3 separate regions of the Homo sapiens genome follow, and regions 1 and 2 are each linked to region 3. The links are contacts of gene promoters, found by promoter capture Hi-C in blood cells and fetal thymus (Javierre and others, 2016). All regions are on one chromosome and are shown on one strand. The core of a region is centred on a gene start or on the middle of the fragment in contact, and the rest is flanking DNA. Distances in the headings are between cores, read along the strand shown. Region 1 holds the start of RPS16 (ribosomal protein S16). Region 2 holds the start of PAF1 (PAF1 component of Paf1/RNA polymerase II complex). Region 3 holds the start of EIF3K (eukaryotic translation initiation factor 3 subunit K).

Region 1 (2,700 bases), core at 68-2,567, 820 kb before region 3:
CCGGGCGTGGTGGCTCACGCCTGTAATCCCAGGACTCTGGGAGGCTGAGGCGGATCACATCACCTGAGGTCAGGAGTTCGAGACCAGCCTGGCCAACGTGGTGAAACCCCATTTCTACTAAAAATACAAAAAACGACCAGGGCGTGGTGGTAGACGCCTGTAATTCCAGCTACTCGGGAGCCTAAGGCAGGAGAATCTCTTGAACCCGGGAGGCGGAGGTTGCAGTGAGACGAGATCGCACCACTGCACTCTAGCCAGGGCAACGAGCGAAACTCCGTCTCAAAAAAAAGAGAGAGATTCTAGGGTGGGGACGGGGAAGAGGTTAATTCTTGGGGGAGGGTCTCTTAGGAGAGGGGGATTCTAACGGAGGGAAAACTCCAGGGAAGGCAGTTGCTGGGAAGAGGAGTCTCGGAAGGGAAATAAACTCAGGAGAAAGGTAGATTTTGAGGGACGGGTCTCTGAGAGAAAAGTTTTTGTGGATTTGCGGGGCGGGGTGTTCTGGGAAAGGGGGATTTGCCGGGAAAGGGGGATTTGCCGGGAAAGGGAGATTCTGGAGGAGGGAGATTCCAGGGGTACTGGGTCCTGACAAGAGAAAGATTCTGGGAAGGGTGACTGAGGGGACGAGGACCGAATGGAGGGAGATTCAGGGAAAAGGGGGGTCTAAGTTGAGCACTCTTAAGAGGGACATTTGGGGTTGGCCATCTGAGAGAAGGATGGGAAACATTCTGGGAAGAGGAAACTGAAAGGAAGGACATTCTGGTGAAAGGGAGATTCTGAGGGGAAGGGGCTCTGAGGGGAAAAGGATTCTGGGAGAGGATCCCCAAGGAGGGGGATTCTAGGGAGGATAGGATTCTGGAAGTCCTTAATCTGAGAATCCAGCCAGATTTCTTGCAGTAGATTCCAAAGGAAGATTCTGATGCGGGGGATTCGGGGAGGAGGGAGTCCAGAGGGGAGAAAGATTACAGGTGTTGGGAGGGTGGGAACTGATTTAAAGAAAGGGCGAAGGGAGATTATTAAAGAGCCAGAATGCAAAGAAGAGCTGCGGTAGTCGACTACAGAGGACGCGAAGCACACTCCCGCAGCCTTCCCTTCAGTCCGCACACGACACTCCCAGGCCCCGCCCCTTCCGCCCACAGAGCCCGCCACTTCCGCCTCACAGGGCCCGCCCGCTCTGAGCGCCTAAGGGCCTTCCCGCCGCTGACCAGACGCCCCGCCCGTTAGCCGCAACAGAAGCCGTAAAGCTCTCTCCCGTCGCGACGCAGTGCTCAAGGCGCCTGCGCAGACCCTGAAAAGCGGCCAGGGTGGCCCCTAGCTTTCCTTTTCCGGTTGCGGCGCCGCGCGGTGAGGTTGTCTAGTCCACGCTCGGAGCCATGCCGTCCAAGGGCCCGCTGCAGTCTGTGCAGGTCTTCGGACGCAAGGTGAGCCAGACGCCGGATGGGAAGGGGAGGGGAAGGAGAAGGCCAGGGTCTGGGAGAGGTCGGTGGGCAGGAATCTAGGGGGTAACATGGGAGCTGGAGCCGGAGCTCACGGGGCCCCTGTTTCTCTTGTATCTTACAGAAGACAGCGACAGCTGTGGCGCACTGCAAACGCGGCAATGGTCTCATCAAGGTGAACGGGCGGCCCCTGGAGATGATTGAGCCGCGCACGCTACAGTACAAGGTGCTGGGATCCGGCACCGGCGTTGAGTGGATGGAGGACTCTTGGAGACAGAGATGTTGTAGCTCTTGAAAGCTGGGGGGGCTGGCATCAGCAACGGGATGTTTAGAAGTTGTGTTGGGTGTAGAACAGTGGGGTATTTGGCAATAGAGCTGGGCTTGGGGTTCAGAAGATGTAAAAGCTGAGATGGGGTTGTTGAAGATTAAGGGTTTGCTTTGAGAACTGGGATGTTAGGAAGCTCACCTCACTGGGGCGGGGGGACCCAAAGGGTGAAGGGACACCGACTATTTTTTATTTTATTTATTTGTTTTGAGAGGGAGTCTCGCTGTGTCGCCCAGGCTGGAGTGTAGTGGCGCGATCTCGGATCACTGCAACCTTCGCCTCCCGGGTTAAAGCGATTCTCCTGCCTCAGCCTCTTGAGTAGCTGAGATTACAGGCATGCACCACCACGCCCGGCTAATTTTTGTATTTTTAGTAGAGACGGGGTTTCGCCATATTGGCCAGAGTGGTCTCGAACTCATTACCTCAGGTGATCCACCAGCCTCGGCCTCCCGAAGTGCTGGGATTGCAGGCGTCAGCCACCGTGTGCGGCCGAATTTGGGTCTGTTTAAATGCTTGCTTGTAAAAGGGGTTCCTCTGTTCCCTTTTTGGGACTCTCAATTTCTTTGGCTCAGAATGGAAAGAAACCAGAGTCTGATTTCTGCCCCTTCTGAACTCTACTACTTTTAAAAGAAAGAATATCTACATTGCAGGGTCAGTTAAAAAAATTTTTTTTGAGTTATAAGGTTCTTTTTTAAAAACAGTATCTTGCTGTCACCTACCCTGGAGTGCAATAGCACAATCCTAATGAACTGCAGCCTTAAACTCCTGAGTTGGAGATCCTCCCACCTCAGCCTTTCGGTTGCCAAGACTACAGGCACATCACCACGCCTGGCTCATTTGAGAAATATTTTTCTGTAGACGTGGGGTCTCACTTTATTGCCCAGGCTGGTCCTTGGTCTCATGTGATCCTTCTGCCTGGACTGGGATTACAGGTGTGATCAC
Region 2 (2,700 bases), core at 178-2,677, 770 kb before region 3:
CTGCACTCACTGTCCATTGTCGATGTTAGTGTTCTGAATCAAGTTTTGGGCCGCAACCTTCATCAAGGTCTAGTCAAAACAAAAACAAAACACGTGGGAAATGGAAAAACAAAAGGGAATACCTCTGGCAGATCTACACTCTTTCTTGAGATCACTCAGTCTCAGGTTTTCTTTTCAACTGGCACCTTCCCTCCTGACTTTCCAAAGTAATATTCGTTTCCATTCCTATAGCTGTCACCACTCCATCCTCCCAGAGGCCCGCTCTCACCTGAGCTTCTCGCCAATAACCTAAGGGTCCTCCCTCACCTATCAATCAAGGGCAGAATCTCCGTATAAGCCAGTACTCTCCTCAGGCTTTAACGACCAGAGCCCAGTTTCTCCTTTAAACAACCCCTCACTCAAGCTCCGGCCAGTCCCAGCCTCAGCATCAGCGCTGATCCCATCTCTGCCGAGCTTCGCTTAGGTCTCGCAGAAAACAACAGTTTTATTTATTTATTTATTTATTTTTTTGACGGAGTCTCGCTCTGTTGCCCAGGCTGGAGTGCAATGGCACGATGTCGGCTCACTGCAACCTCCGCCTCCTGGGTTCAAGCGATTCTCCTGCCTCAGCTTCCCGAGTAGCTGTAATTACAGGCGCGCGCCACCATGCCCGGCTAATTTTTGTATTTTTAGTAGAGACGAGGTTTCACCAGGCTGGTCTTGAACTCCTGACCTCAAGTGATCCGCCCGCCTCGGCCTCCCAAAGTGCTGGGAACACAGGCGTGCACCAGCCAGGCCAAAACAGCAGGTTCTATTCCTCTTTCTGCTTAGCGCTCTCTCCGACTAACCTGGCCCTCGGCCTGCCCCTCTAGACTACCAAATCCAGTTTGCTTCTCGCTGCTTAAGGCCAATCACCTGTAGACTCTCCTTCAGCTGCGGGATGAGCATCTTATAACGCTGCACAGGATCGAAGTCCTGTTGCTGTTGCTGCAGGAGGCCGCTCTGGGCAGGGCCCACCAGTTGTGCTGGCGGTTGCGGCTGCTGCTGGGGACCCGGGCCGCCAGCCGAACTAGGACCCGATACACCAGCAGCTGAGGAAGCCGCTGAAGCTTGCTGCTGGGATGCAGCCATCTTCCTCGCGTAGACCGCCGGAAGTGCGTTACGACTGCGTCTCTCCCCGTTGCTTTTCAGCATCCCTATTTCTAGTCCCCGTTTGCTAGTTAGTCCCGCCCCCTAGGCAATTAAGCCAATGGAGGGGAAGGAGGTGCCCCAACGTTACGTCACTCTCAAATCTGCGTCCAGACTGAGATATCTCTCCACCAATCACAGAAGCACCTCTCTCCCTCGCTCCGCCCTTCACCCAGACGCTCGCCAATCCGTGTGTGGTTCCGAGCCGGACTTCATTTCCCCGAAGGCGTCGCGGCCTGAGGAGACCCGTTGGGTCCTCAGCGTCTTGGCGGCAGTTGGTGGAACCGGAGCTTCGAGTCCGTCCCCGGTGCTGCCTGCGCGTTCACCTGAGTCTCGCTGGAGCTCTTCTCGCCCGCCCACCTCATCTCAACCCACTTTCCGCGGGGAGCGGCGCCAAGCTGGGCCTTCCTCGGATCAGGCGTCCCCTGAAGTCGGCACGCCCCTCTGCGTCCCCCTTCGGTCCCGCTAGGACCCCGTCCGGGCTGCCGTCGCCTCGTCGCTATGGCGCCCACCATCCAGACCCAGGCCCAGCGGGAGGATGGCCACAGGTAGGCGCCACGCTTTTCTGTTGCAGCAAGGCGGGGGATCGGGAGAGGGTTTCTGCTGAACAACGTCACCAGCCCCCAGGTCTGCCCGTGACGTCATGAAGCGCTCACCTTTGACGAAGGGGGCGGGTTCCTTCTGAGATTCAGGTGTTCCCCTCCTCCCCGCCGTGCAGTTCAGGGATTAGGCTTTTGGAGACTCCCTCCAGAAGGGATCCCTCCAGTCAACCGTTTGGAGACCCCTCTTCCGAAGACGATTGAGTACATGGTTCTTTATTAAAGCACTTGAAGCCATCTCCTGCAAAAGGGATTGAGCACTTGGCCTTGTTCATTAAAGCTTTTGGGGGCATTTCTTCCTAAATAAATTGAACATTTGTCTCCTTCCATTAAAGCATTTGGACACTCCCCACACCACCACCCAAAGAAACCAGCATTTGTCACCCCTCCTACCTTTTGAAAGGTTGGGGAAGCCTTTTTCATTCTCCTGTCAATCCCGTCCTCTCCACCTATCACTGTTTCTTTCTTCTCCACTAGGCCCAATTCCCACCGGACTCTGCCTGAGAGGTGAGCCCCACTGTGCTTTCCCAGGAGCGGTGGGGCAGTGGGGCTGGGAGCAGAGGTGGGGCAGCGGGGGCCCACTTTTGAGCCACTAATGTTCCTAGGTCTGGAGTGGTCTGCCGAGTCAAGTACTGCAATAGCCTCCCTGATATCCCCTTCGACCCCAAGTTCATCACCTACCCCTTCGACCAGAACAGGTGAGACTAAGGAATGGGAAAACTACTCAGGTATGAGTTCCTTGAAGGCAGGGACTGCTTGTCTCGTTGGCTGCTGTCTGCTCAGGGCCTAGCACAGTACCTACCCTAGCACATAGTAGTAGCTGCTCAATTGTTAATGGAGCAAGCAGTGTCCAAGTCCCTTCCCACTGGGGAGCCAGCTTTCAGACTCTGCCATGGGGGACACTTCATTCTGAGTTCCTCCCCAGAGAAGCTCC
Region 3 (2,700 bases), core at 201-2,700:
ACAGGCGTGAGTCACCGCGCCCGGCAATTGATTTTTCAAAAACCATCCCTCCTCCTGTCCCAACTTCCTTGGCTTCCTAGTCTTGCACACCAAGAGATGCTGCATTGTTCAGGATACTACCAGCCACCCCCTTGCCCTGTACTGGGAGTGGCACCCTGCTAGTTGCTGCAATGGGAGTGTAGACAGAGAGCTAGACACTTACAGCTTCAGGACAGCCAGGTTGGCTTCCAGATCATAGGCATTTTCCTTGGCCTGCGTCTCTACATAGCGCTCCAGGGTGGCCAGGTTCTCAGGATTGTACCTAAAGGAGAATCAAGATAGGTGAGCACAGAGGAGACAGAAGCTGAGGCCAGCCACCTTATGGAGCAAGGGGCCACTGTAACCTGCTCCTCCCGCCCTTCCCCTCTAAATCTGGCACTGGCCACTTGCTCTATCCAGGTAGTGAATTATGTCCAGTATAATCTCTAGTAAAACTTATTCTTATCCCAGACCTCTCGCCTAAGCTCTAAACTCCACTGGAGCCCTGGCTCTTCCCTAGGATGCCTCCTCAACCTCTGAGCCAGTCAGTCACTGCAGCTTGTACACCTGGCCTCCTGAATGTCTCTGCTACTCACCCCTTCCTCCCCTGTTCAGGCCTCCACCCTGATCCAGCCCCATCCTCTCCTGCCTACCTCGCTGCCTACTTCCTCCATGTCCACCTGAACACTCTGGCCTTTGCTTCCCCCATTTCAGTTCTAATCTCTCCCGGCTATCGCTGTCTGCTGTCAGGTTTGTCTCCCTTATGGAAAGGGAACTCAGACCGTGAAGGCATGATCTGCCGCTGTCTGATTCGCCTGTGGTTCCCAGCATTGCCTAGCACTGACAGTTTATTTCAGTAAACGTGTGGAGAATGAATGACTTATAGAGCAGAGAAGGGAGAGATTAAGAGGCACTCAAAGGAGGCGGAGCAGAGAAGGAAACCTTAAGGCAATTTACGAAGAGACTGAGTGGTACCAAGATTCTCTCGCTTCTAGGCCTTTGCAGTGCTTTTGTTTCTTTCTTTTAGAGACGGGGTTTGGCTGTTGCCCAGGCTGGTCTCTAACTCCTGGGCTCAGGCGACCCACCTACCTCGGCCTCCCAAAGTGCTAGGATCACAGGCGTGAGCCACTACCCCCAGCTCAGTGCCGTTTCTTTAAGCATCTCCTCCTCCAGGAGGATAGAGAAACCCCACCCCGCGGCAAGCCCAGGACCCTGAACACCCCTTGCTGTCTCCGGAAAACCCTCTCCTCCGCCCCGCTTGGCCAGAGCGCTTCCTCCAACCGGGCTCAGACCTGTCGATACCCTTGAGCAACTTGCCCACGTTGGCTCTCATCTGCTCAAACATCGCCATGACTTCTGTCGCCTTCCACAACCAGGGCTGGAGGCTAACACTGACCCGGCACGGCGTCCTCAAGGACGGGAACAGGAAGAGGTGGTGGAAACGGAAACGACGTCGTTGTTGTCGCTCCAGCTCCTTGGGTGCGGTAAAGGGAAAGGCTCTAGCAGCAGCCGCCACGCTTTCCGGCTGCCACGTGACTTCTTCCTCGCAGGCGCAATTGGCGCGTGCGCATTCGCGCCACTCAAGCTGGACAGACAGCGTGAGAAAAATCTTACTGGATCCCAGTGCGCAGGCGCCTCTCGTGGCGAGGGGGCGGGGCTAAGCTTTTCCCGGGCCTCACAGACCCAGTTCCAGTGCCGGTAGCGCGGGAGCGTGCGCGCGCGAACTCACCGGGAAGCACCCGGAGCTCTGGCGGCGTGCGCGCGCGTTGTATTGCGCGCGGCCATGAGGCCACGGAGCTCTGCGGGAATGCACGCAGCAGCCTTACGTTTAGGCCATGGCCAAGTTCCGAGGGAGGTGTTCTGAGGTCCCTCTTGCCACAGGCCTGGGCGCCTGGTGCAGGATCCTGAGCTCTCCAGTTTCAAGTCTCAGCCCTTGGTCCCCAGCTCCAGGAGGAGGGTCCCACAAAGCTACTGTGCTCTGCCGGGCAGGGGCTGGGGTGAGGGCTCCTGGACTTCGCCGGATCGCGCCCCGTCTCCATTAGGTTCCGGTCTTGGAGCTGAGGGCGAGCGTCCCATTTGTACTGCCATGAATTATATATTATGTATAGGTTTTGTACACTGCAGGCCTACAAAATGCAGTTATGTGCCATGCATGTGGAGGTATATGTCCTGGGTACATCCACGTGTGTACTGTGCACACAGGTATCCAGGCAGATGCACGTCTACACGCCTGCGCAGTGCAGAGGAGGTAACCCAAGTGCATGTATGTGACAGGTGAACAGGCATGTACACTGCATAGCCATCCCTTTGCAGACCTGCCGCCTTCGGGTTGTGGCCAAACCTTCAAGCACCCAGCAGAGGTTTAGACACTACCTAGGAGACGGGGGCGGGGGTTCTAAGGCACCCCCCTCCAACCCAGTTACGATTAAGATCATTTGCATCACATTTACATCCAGCCCTGGGCCTTGGAGGTTGAGGGTGGTCCCTTGGGTCCCAAGACAAGCTGCCCCTCAGAGGCTCTCAGAGCCCAGGGGACGGGGGGGTGGAGCCCGTTGCACAGTCGTGCAGTGCAGCTGGGGCAGGAAGCGAGAGTGAGGAGGGGGGAGGCCACAGCCCGCGGAGGCAAGGCGGGTGCAGGGCTTCTGGGGACGGAGGGAGGTGCCAGAAGTTGAGCCCTGAGGC

What was found. Contacts are between HindIII fragments. The CHiCAGO score rates a contact against its expected background, and 5 or more counts as called.
Region 1: a contact is called between the fragment with the promoter of RPS16 here and the fragment with the promoter of EIF3K in region 3, in 2 of 17 cell types (monocytes and total B cells). The highest score is 5.4, in monocytes.
Region 2: the fragment with the promoter of PAF1 here is called in contact with the fragment with the promoter of EIF3K in region 3 in 10 of 17 cell types (fetal thymus, naive CD4 T cells, total B cells and 7 more); the score reaches 23.2 in fetal thymus.

What each region holds. Positions count from the first base shown.
Region 1 is chr19:39,434,566-39,437,265 of GRCh38, reverse strand. It overlaps RPS16 (ribosomal protein S16), which reads left to right and starts at 1,317. Exons shown (of 5, transcript NM_001020.6): 1 at 1,317-1,418; 2 at 1,558-1,659. The coding sequence starts at 1,371. RefSeq lists a silencer at 1,064-1,163 and an enhancer at 1,544-2,123. The HindIII fragment of the contact is 27,347 bases long and covers 1-2,700 here.
Region 2 is chr19:39,389,833-39,392,532 of GRCh38, reverse strand. PAF1 (PAF1 component of Paf1/RNA polymerase II complex) reads left to right here and starts at 1,427. Exons shown (of 14, transcript NM_019088.4): 1 at 1,427-1,715; 2 at 2,244-2,273; 3 at 2,372-2,464. The coding sequence starts at 1,669. MED29 (mediator complex subunit 29) reads right to left here and starts at 1,155. Exons shown (of 4, transcript NM_017592.4): 1 at 895-1,155; 2 at 11-69. The coding sequence starts at 1,110. It also overlaps a transcript of SAMD4B not described here. RefSeq lists an enhancer at 811-1,100 and a silencer at 2,638-2,700. The HindIII fragment of the contact is 958 bases long and covers 1,091-2,048 here.
Region 3 is chr19:38,617,938-38,620,637 of GRCh38, reverse strand. It overlaps EIF3K (eukaryotic translation initiation factor 3 subunit K), which reads right to left and starts at 1,450. Exons shown (of 8, transcript NM_013234.4): 1 at 1,311-1,450; 2 at 203-301. The coding sequence starts at 1,369. MAP4K1 (mitogen-activated protein kinase kinase kinase kinase 1) reads left to right here and starts at 2,685. Exons shown (of 31, transcript NM_001042600.3): 1 at 2,685-2,700. RefSeq lists an enhancer at 2,112-2,161. The HindIII fragment of the contact is 6,969 bases long and covers 1-1,682 here.